3 separate regions of the Homo sapiens genome follow, and all the other regions are linked to region 1. The links are contacts of gene promoters, found by promoter capture Hi-C in blood cells and fetal thymus (Javierre and others, 2016). All regions are on one chromosome and are shown on one strand. The core of a region is centred on a gene start or on the middle of the fragment in contact, and the rest is flanking DNA. Distances in the headings are between cores, read along the strand shown.

The links. The method cuts DNA at HindIII sites, captures the fragments that hold promoters and counts their contacts. A CHiCAGO score of 5 or more calls a contact.
Region 2: a fragment that was not itself captured here is called in contact with the fragment with the promoter of LINC01414 in region 1 in 4 of 17 cell types (endothelial precursors, M2 macrophages, M0 macrophages and 1 more); the score reaches 7.1 in endothelial precursors.
Region 3: a contact is called between a fragment that was not itself captured here and the fragment with the promoter of LINC01414 in region 1, in 4 of 17 cell types (M1 macrophages, M2 macrophages, endothelial precursors and 1 more). The highest score is 10.5, in M1 macrophages.

The regions. Positions count from the first base shown.
Region 1 is chr8:64,366,820-64,370,301 of GRCh38, reverse strand. LINC01414 (long intergenic non-protein coding RNA 1414) reads left to right here and starts at 1,744. Exons shown (of 5, transcript NR_125826.1): 1 at 1,744-1,961. RefSeq lists enhancers at 1-223, 1,040-1,541. The HindIII fragment of the contact is 6,543 bases long and covers 1-3,482 here.
Region 2 is chr8:63,370,776-63,374,257 of GRCh38, reverse strand. No RefSeq gene overlaps it. Among named protein-coding and RNA genes, the nearest start is that of YTHDF3, 200 kb to the right of the region's middle. The HindIII fragment of the contact is 844 bases long and covers 1,097-1,940 here.
Region 3 is chr8:63,415,956-63,419,437 of GRCh38, reverse strand. LOC105375875 (a long non-coding RNA gene) reads left to right here and starts at 1,516. Exons shown (of 4, transcript NR_188107.1): 1 at 1,516-1,998. The HindIII fragment of the contact is 2,415 bases long and covers 514-2,928 here.

The sequences.
Region 1 (3,482 bases), core at 495-2,994:
CCTCGCCCCTCGCCCCACGCCCCTCGCTGGGGGCTCAGCCTAGCTCCGCGCCCAGGCGTGCACCTGGAGAAGGTGGAGGCGCGTAGGGACGCCTAGCCAAAGCGCAGCGGGTCTGGGAGGCCACAAGGGCGTGGACGAGGCCTGCCGGGGAGGGCGGCCTCGCACGGCCTCACGAGGCGCCCCCTCCCAATACTCGCAGCCCGGGCCCCGCAAGCCCGCGCCCTTCGCCTCCCCCAGGCGCATAAAACACTAACCGACTTTTACTCGTCTGGCCATAGGGCACCGCCAGCTCCCCACCCTCCTCCGGCCTCCACGCCAGACATGCTGGGCTGGCGACCCACGCTTGCATGCGTTGGGGGAAAGCAAAGACCCTTAGGCCCGAGGCAGCTGTTTCCTCAGAAGCTGTGGGTCCGCTCGGGTGGTCCCGGGGCGAGGTCCCTGAAGAGGCGAGGCGGCTGGAGCGGCCCAGGCCCAAGCAGGCCTGGTCGTCTCCCTGCGACCTCGCCTCGCCCCGCTGCCCCCACCGGCACCCCCTGCCCCAAGCCCGTCCTGCGGAAGTCGGCTCCTCTGGCCGAGGCAGAAACTAGAAAGCCTGCCCCGGGCCAGGTGCAGGAAAGCAAAGCAGAAGTAAGTCTCGGGCCGCAGATGCGGCCCTGGCGGGCAGGGCCTCGGCGCCCATTCCCGCCGCGACCTCGCCCGGCTGCGTACGCCAAGGAGCGCAGGATAGAGGCGCTGGTGTCTGCGGGGCCGCCCCGGGCTCGGAGAGCGGAGGAGCAGGGAAAGGCTCGGGGAAGGAATGTTAAAGGGGGACACTGGCAGCGACGGCGCGCTCCGCCCGCCCGCGGACTAGCCGGACCCGCCACTTCCCAGCCGGCCGCGAGGAGCTGCGGGCCGGGCCGGCAGCCCCTCGGCCGCGAAGCCCGCGCCACCCCGGTAACCCCGGCGAGGAAACGCGCTCTTTCCTTTTTCTTCTCCCCTCCCCCCTCCCCTTTCTCCCTAGAGGCAGCTCCCGTCCTCTAAATGCATTACACACACACACACACACACACACACACACACACACACACACACACACGGGAAATCTCTGGGGCTCTCCTTTTTCCACCGGTCTCGCCTCCTCCTAACACTGGTGTTGGTCGAACAAGCGCGAAACTCACAGAAGTTTCCCCGAAAACGAACAGCTTTAAATGCCAGGAGGGAAAATGTCGGGGGAAAAAGTGGAGGTCGGTGTTTCCCTAAATGCAAAACATCAGAGAGGAATCTGAAAAGAGCTTTACTTTCCCTGCGAAATCTCCATTGTTGCTCAGCAAACAATGGGAGCCTGGGCGACTGGAGGGCTGTGCGAATGAATAGGCGATCCGCGGGATGTGTGCGGGTCAGTGCCTGGGGTCCCGGGCCTAAAGCCCCTTTCTCAGCTTGCCACAATAAACCAGCGCAAGGTTTAGTCCTTACTGGGTCACCGGCCATCCTCTATTATTCAACACTTCACAACAAAAAACACTTATTAATCAGCGCTGACCAGAGGCCCCTTTTGAAACAAGAGAAGAGGGGAGAGAGAGAGGGAGTGAGAGAGAGAGGGGTGAAAAGAAGATTGAGAAGCCCTGGACAGATCTTTCTAAAGCCAGAGCAACCATGGGGTACTTTCCTCCAGTGGCCAAAGTTTATTTGACACAACAAAGTTTCTAATCAGGCCACGGAGACCTGGATTTCTCCTCATTTGCCTCACTCCCGGTCTCTTCCTCTGAAGATGCTGGAGACTTTGTTGCAAGAAAGGATGGCTTTAGGTCATGTTGCTGAGGCCTGATCTTAAAGATCTAATTGCTATTGGAAGAGAATCCTGTTTCCCAACTGGGCCTCCCCTCTGGAGATGGAGCAAGGAAGACTGTCCAACTCTGCTCTGGGCACCCTGCTGATGGATGAGGTGTCAGGCCAGTCGTCATGTGAGGACTGGTTTCCAAATGGTATGAGCAGTAGTCAAATGCGGTACTTATTGGTGATACTGAATGCAATCTGTAGATTTTCTACTTCATGTTGTTTCAGGCCAGATATATGAAAAAACTAAACTTGCTTGCTAGAGTGAAGAGAAATTGATTATTCCTATGCTCAGACAAGGATTGAGGGGAAAGGATATGATGAGTTTACTTTGAGAGAAGAAATTGATTAAAAATGTTCCATACCACTAAAGTCAGTGGGTTCTTTGCTCAACTTTGATAATTTTTACAGAGCTTATTTGATGTTTGTAACCTAATTTTGTGTCTTTTATTTATCTGGTTACATGATAATTATGAACACATGCTCAGACATATATGGACCCTACTATACATCAAAGTGAAGTGCTACCTACGTCAGTTTTATGGATGAGTTTAATCCATTTAGAACTCAGCTAGACATTTTTGATGGCAAAATTTTGTTGCTTTTTGATTTGGGGTTGGAAGCCAATATTTCTTGGTTATTCTGTCTGTTTCACATTACTCAGGTTGTAATTTAGCCAAGTGAGCAAAGCTCTTTTGTAATGGCTGATGTTTACAAGTAACGGAGGCAGCAGTTATTGAATCTTGGTTGTCAAAAGATATAAAACAATGATTTTCCTAAAGAAATAGAAATGAATGTCAAAACAGTATTCTTTTAAGTTTAAATTTTCGTTTGTGTACACTTTTGAGTTTCTGAGTAACATAACTAACCATTTTACTTGTTATGATTCAAAGAAGCCTTTAAAACCAGAACAAGTATGGATGGGGGATTCTGAGTTGAGCAAATTAAGCTGTAGAACTAGAGGGCTTGGTAATGAAAGCAAGAATGCAGAATTACTTGGTAGCAAACTACACTGATATTTACCAGAGTTTATGTAGTAAATGCAAAAATGAGTTGCATACTTTGGTCTGATGCCTACTATTTAAGATTGGCCTTTTTTTAATGTGGAAAATATTGTGTTACTCAGATTTTGCAGAGCTCAAGGGTTCTTGCAATGGAGTAATCAAGTGTTATCTGAATTATTTAAAGCCTGGGATTAAAGGCCTTGGAGTTGACTGCTGACAAACTCTCAAATGTAGGCAGGGGAAAGTTTAGTATTCTTGTCTATCTGTTTATACTTTGAAAATAATTTGGCCAATTGTGGTAAATTATTTTTAAAGTTTATGCATAAGAACAATGAATATTTCTTCTATGAATTGTTTCCCAAATGAGCAAGTAAGATTATTCAGAAAACAAGTAGTTATCTGTTTACTACATACCAGTGTGTCACCTAACATGCACTGTTTTCACAAGATTATGCTTTAAAAAACATATTTGCTATGGAGAGCTCTACTGTTTCAGAAAAGCATTTAGAGTGTGGATACACACAATGTATTCATTCAACAAATTCATTTGGGGGACATGACAATTTTATGTCATGTTTTTCCTTTTGCTATTTTGGTTGACTTCCTAATTTGCTTAAAGGAGGCAATATTCCATTTGTATATACATGTTTATTTGTAAACTAAAGG
Region 2 (3,482 bases), core at 269-2,768, 1.0 Mb after region 1:
AGATGAGAAATCCCTTCCTTGTGACTCATGCATTACCAGAAGTCTCTGATTTCCTGGAATTTTTGATAAAATTTCTGAATCTCTTAATGATAAATTTTAAAACCACAATTTTTAATATTTTGCTTATGTAGTAGTATCTCTATGACAGTTTTTGGAGCAGACATTCTTTTCCAATTCCTGATATGATCAGTCCCAGTGTTACCACATTTGACTAATAATTGGTCTCTGAGATATCTATTACCTGAATACAATTTGTTGCCAATCTTTTTGTGCTAGATTTGCAGTGAATGAATGGCTGGATTCATGGTGTTCTTTTAAATAGGAAAAATTCTTGGTGAACTCATAAAAGGTAAGATGGGCCATCCCACCATACTGATCACAAGTTTCCAGGATTCAATCTGTGTGCACACTGTTCACTGCAGCTACTGGGAGTAGATTCCAATGCATGGCAATTGAGGGACTACGTAGCTAATTCACATAACCTAAAGCCACATCTCTGGGTCAGATTTCTCTCTTTAACTCTTCTCTTCAAAATCCAAATATGTATTTAGAAATCTTCATCTAGATGTCCCATGGGCACCTCAAATTCAACATAGTCAGAACAGAGTTCATTATCCTTCACTGAAAACCTACTTCTTTTCCTGTATCTCTTGACACCTGTGTCTCAGAGTCATGCTGTTCCCTTTCTTCCTCTCCTTTTCTATGTTTAGTCCATCAGGAAGCCACTGCTTGGCAAATTTTATGACAGGACCCTCCTCTTCAGTTTAATTTTCTGTTTTTGTGATTTGCTTCAGTCCTATTTTGTCATTGTGGATGATGTCTGCAATCATCACTTGCCTAGGGTTTCTGCAATAGCTACAAACAAGCCTCATGCCCTCCAGACTCGGCCTGCTCCAATCTACTTGCTGCATTACAACTAGAGTTATTTCTCTAAAATGGAAATTTGAAAATTTGTTATCTTACTTGAAACTCATCAATGGTCTCTAATTTCAAAATAAAGTCTAAACTCTTAAATCTAGTCCTCTGCAACAGCATGTATTATGTTACACAATGACTGGTTACTCTTTTATCTAAATCTTCCAACATAATGAAAGCTTCTAAATGTTTTTGGAATGAACAAATGAATAGCATATTGTATACTTTTATGACATTGAATTCTCACAGAAGAACATCATCAAATAAATACAGTTTATATTCTGCAAAGGAAAAGAATAAGACTCAGAAAGGATATTTAACTTGTTCAAGTAACAGAGAGTAGCTGACAGAAACTGGATTGAAGAGCAAATCTATCTAATCCCAAAGCACTACAGCTCAATGCCCTTTCACATGGCCCTAGGTCTGTATTCGTTGTTTTCTGATTTTGTAGCAGGCAGGCCTAGATGAGCCTATGATATACCTCTCATTGCTATTGTGTATGTGTATATGTATGTGTGTCATTAGATTATAAGCTATTCAAAAGCCATAATCACCTTCACAGCCTCAGTACCTAGAATAACACCTTTTAGATATGCCTTTGGTATGTTCTCAACGATTATTTATTGAATTAAATAAAATAGTGCAATGGGGAAAATGATTTTGTTATTTAAGAAATAATGAAACTTAAACTAGTCATAAACATAAAGAAATTTTGAAGTACCATTTAAGTAGCACTGTGTATGAGATGTATAGTAGTATATAAAGAAAAAATATTTGCTATATGCATGTACCATTTGTAGCTTATGAATTTTAGCTACTAAAGGAGACAATATATGTCTAAAAGTTTGGTATTAGTAATAGCTCAGTGTTCACAGGGCAAAATTTTCCCATTAGATTATTAATAGGATTTCATTTTGCTTTAGATTCAGATCATCCTTGGCCAATGTTATTATTAGTCTTTCATCTTGAAGTCTCTATATAGAAAAATTTGTCTGGAATCATAACTCCTACCAATAATGAAAGCTTCCAGGGTGGGGGAAGTCAGTAAGTTCTTAGAGAAGTGATCTCCTAGGAACCCTCTGGTTTTTGCAGAGGTGATCTTAACTCTGTATTGATCAGCTCTAACTATTGAAATGAGTTCTAGAAGTCACACTTCCATGATAAAATTTGAAAGAGTAAGAGAACAAGATGGAGTTGTCCTTGTGAAAACAAAATCACTGAAAAAAGGTTGGGAAAATTGGAAGCGTGTAGCCTAGTGAGATGCTTCAGGAGAGGGTCATTTCTGTATTCAAATATTTGTATGGTGTTTGTAAGACACACATATAAAATTGCTTACTGCATGCCCTTTTTCTAGAAATTGCTCTTCTTTGTCCCCTTCTCCCACATGGTTGCAGCAGGAATGTCCATGTTCCCACATGACAGAGCCCACAAGCACAATAGATTTGTTCAGCAGTGGAACGTGTTCCAACCAGAGCAATCATTGTCTTTTCCAGGAATTATGGGACAAAGAATAAAGGGAGGAGGGGGGTGGAAGTCCTCTGGATGGCAGAATCTGAAACATGTAAAACTTGGGGGCTGGCCGGGCGCGGTGGCTCACGCCTGTAATCCCAGCACTTTGGGAGGCCAAGGCAGGCAGATCACGACATCAGGAGATCGAGACCGTCCTGGCTAACACTGTGAAACCCCATCTCTACTAAAAATACAAAAAATTAGCCAGGCGTGGTGGTGGGCGCCTGTAGTCCCAGCTACTCGGGAGGCTGAGGCAGGAGAATGGCATGAAGCCGGGAGGCAGAGCTTGCAGTGAGCCAAGATTGCACCACTGCACTCCAGCCTAGGCGACACAGCAAGACTCCGTCTCAAAAAAACAACTTGGGGGCTATTGGTGACCATGCTTTCTGCCACATGAACTCAAGAAGAAAGGAAATGAGGAGTGAGGCAGAGAGTCGGGGAGCGGAGAGAAACATAAGCCAGGTTAAATCACCAATGAGAAACATAGAGAGAATCTTGATATTTTTGACTCTCTGATTCCAGGTCATTCCTAAGACCTAACTCCATTTCTCTTCTTAGTTTGTAGTAGACAACTTGGCATTCTTATAATTAAATTCCTCTTTTTGCTGAGGTTAATTAAGGCCACCCAAAATGCTGGGATTACAGGTGAAAAAAAATTTTTTTTAATGTGATGTTTGGTGGAATGGAATGTAGCAACTATAAATGACAAGATGGTGATGAGAATTTGAGAGGAATTGCTAACCTGATACCAGCAGACTAGTCTTGCAGGGACAGTATGGGAGTTAGATAAGAAAGCGTATGAATGAAAAGTATGAGGGGCTGGGCACGGTGGCTCATGCCTGTAATCCCAGCACTTTGGGAGACTGAGGTAGGTAGATCATGAAGTCAAGAGATCAAGACCATCCTGGCCAACATGGTGAAACCCCATCTCCACTAAAAATACAAAAATTAGCTGGGCATGGTGGTGTATGCCTGCAGTCCCAGCTACTCAGGAGGCTGAGGCAGGAGAATCGCTTGAACCTGGGAGGCAGAGGTTGCAGTGAGCCGAGCTCGCGCCA
Region 3 (3,482 bases), core at 472-2,971, 950 kb after region 1:
TCGTAGGTGGTAATCGTGACCTTCCTGTCTGTTTCACACCCTGAAAGTAATTAAGTTCTTTCTCATCTAAAAGGGAAAGCAATCTCACAACAGTAATTCTTGATGATATCAAAACTGTATCAAGTTCTCTGTGGAAATTTTTCTTCTTTACCCTCAATTTTTACCTTTCAGAGACCTTTTCTAACAGGTCAGTGAGACTCTTGTTAAATATGTTCTTGTCTGCAAATTGCCCAATGAGTCATTATGGACTGAGTTATAAATACTAAGAAAAATCATTCTCATGTGAATCATTGTTCAACTTGTTTGGCAGTGAGGATGCAAATTTAAATGAAAGAGAAAATTCTCCCATTGCTCTTTGTGGCTCTAAGCAACTAATTCTGACAGGACAAACTGCATTATGTGGGTGAGGCAGAATTTTTAAATAAAAATGTTTTCATTGTTTTTAGTTCTTCTCCCCCTTTTTTTTCATTTTGAGACATGCTTTATGAGATGAGTAACAGCACTGTACAAGCTTCTCACAGATGTCAATGATCCAAAATAATATTTTTTTAGTGTAATCTCTATGCTTAGCTTCCTCATATTACTGCAAAAGATACCCCTCCACTCCAAAACGTCTAGTTTAATGACGGCTTCCAGAACACAGGGTGATTAGTAGAGTTTTGTTTTGGTTATTTATATGCTTGTTTTAAACAATGTTAAACAAAAAAAGATCTCTTCTGTTAGTATTGAGTCCCATTACAAATATTTCTTTCAATCCTATGATACAGCAATAGGGGTGGCCGTTCTAAAATGAGAATGTTGCTGATATCCAGATACAGAACTGTTTCCAGAAAGGAGAGTCCCCCTGGTGGCCAATTTTTTCCTAAGAAAATTCCTGGTAACAACTACATGACAGGGAAGTTAGAAGCTCAAATAAACCAAGCCTAAGGTGGCCAGTGCATAACACCTTAGCCGTGCAAGTCATCTGTTCTCAAGGAATATATGGCCAAAGCACAGCAGGAAAGAACAACAGAAAATAGGAATATGCAGAGAACAGACATAACGTAAATATAACTTAAATTGCAATTAATGAATAGCAGGGAAAACATCAAAATCAACAGTGTGGTGCAAGATAAGGAATGTAACCATAGGAAATAGAAAAGTTGCAAGAGGTAAATGGCAAAAAGGAAAAAATTAAATAGAGTGCAAAAATACCTGTGTCAATAAAGCCATAGTTGCCACTGGTATTTCAAGCCTAAGATGGAAAAAATAACACAAAGGTGGGCTTCCTGGGCCCTTAATGGCTCAGGATGGTAGGAAATAGACTAAGTGAAGACAGGTAGTTCCAATGAGAGAGGGGCAGGAACACAGCAGTCCAAACTAGAAGATCCAAAGAGGTATGGTACACATTGGCTTGGTATAGAAGAACTCCAATGGCCATAGAAATTCAGTCTCTGAGGTAGGACAAAGCAATAGAATGTTGCAAGCAGAAGTGAGGCCATGTGTCTAAGAACTCAGTTCACTCCTTGCATGACACCAAGCAGCAAGTGTAATTGAAGGGAAATGCTCTATCCAGATACCAAGAGGACTAGTCACGAGACCAGGCCTCAAAACAGGAAAATGGTTCCAATGGAGAAGTAGAGTATGAGTCAAGAATTGAGAGATGAGCAATATACATTAGCATTATAAAACACTAAAGAAAGTATACATGCCTAGAGCCTCTGAGGCACACTACAAAGAAGATGACCTGAAAAGTGACTGCTTACAGGGTCCACATATAGGTGACATGAAAGTTCCCTCAGCCTTGTCAGTATGAATGAGCCTGTAAAGTGAAGATGAATGAGAAAGGGATTAGATGAGTCATCTGAGTCTGTAAGGCCCTTGCAACAAGAGCATGAAGATGATAAAAGAGGACAGAAAGGGAACAAGTTGGGTGAAAAGAAAACAATGAATTAGGGTGAAAAGATCAAGCCAGTGACCAAACTCTCTACAACTAGAAAAGACTTATCAGTTTCTCATGTAAGTCTATTATCTTTACTCCAACTCATCTTTTCCATATTATTTAATTAATATACATAGGAAAACTGTTTGGTAAAATCAGAAAGTACTTATTCATAGGTAATTAGTCTTTTGGTAAGCAAATTACTACTTGTTTAACGTTCCAGTTAAGAAGCCAAATAAGATATCATTTACATCAAAAATGAAAAAATAAGGGGGCATCTACTTTCTATAATAACGACCTGGGAAACTCAGACCATCCTTCCTTCTGAGGACGCTGAAAAAAACTGAATCCAAGAACTAACAACATATTAAGGAACTGCCAGGTGGTGACCCAGCATGCTAAGAACACAGCAAGGTGAGAAATGCACTCAAGGCCACTTTTGCTGATTAAAAAGGGGAGCCTAAGGGATTCTGATGGATTTTTGGTAAACTTCTAGGACTAAAGGTGAAAAGTCAAGGTCTTGATCTGCCAGGATAGTAACCTTGGTAAATAACCTCCCAACCTACTTTGAGCCAAGGCTCCTAAAAGCTGTATCCATCCCAGTAGTAAATGTTAACAGATTAAAACTAGCATTGAAAGAGTTTTAGAATGTCTTCTTTCATCTGGATAGCCCAGGATATTTCAATCCTTAAACATGGATTAAAGTTATCTTGAAAGGCCAGCACATCCACGCACCTGGGAGGCAAATACAAATCACCTAAGGAGGAAGATACCCTCATTCTTGTCCTCAAATTAGCTCTACAAATAGTTCTTTAAACACAATATCCAGCTCAGAAAGGCAACCATACAGACAACACAAATACAAAGATGGAAGATAAACTAAAACATACCCACAGAAACAAGGGAAAACAGAAAGACCAACAAGAACTTGAGATATTAGAAATAACAGTTATATACTATAAAATAACTAGGTTTTCTGTGGTTAAAAAAAAAGTAAAAGACAAGCTTTAGTGACAGAGTATTTTTAACAGTAGATGAATGTAACAGTAGACTAGATACAGGTGAAAAGAGAATTAGTACCTTTGAAGGTACATGAGAAAAAAAATCCACAATTTAATATAGAGACAAAAGAATAAAAACTAGAGAAAAGATGGTAAGACATATTGAATATATTAAAAGCTTTATAATAAATGTTTAAATGAAGTCTGTGATGGTTAGTTGTATGTGTCAACCTGGCTAGGCTATAGTACCCAGTTACTCAAACAAACACTAATCTACATGTTGTTGGGAAGGTATTTTGTAGTTGTGGGTAACATCTACAATCAGTTGCCTTTGAGTAAAGGAGGTTATTGTCAATAATGTGGGGGATCTCATCTAAACAGTTGAAAGGCCCTAAAAGCAAAACTGAGGTTTCCCTAAGGAAGAAAAAATTCTGCCTCAAGATTGTAGCATCAACTCCTACCTCAGAATTTCCAGCCTGCTGCCCTGCCTTAAAGTTTTCAGACTTGCCAGTTCCCACAATTGCATGAGCAAATTCCTGGAAATAAATTTCTCTCTCTCT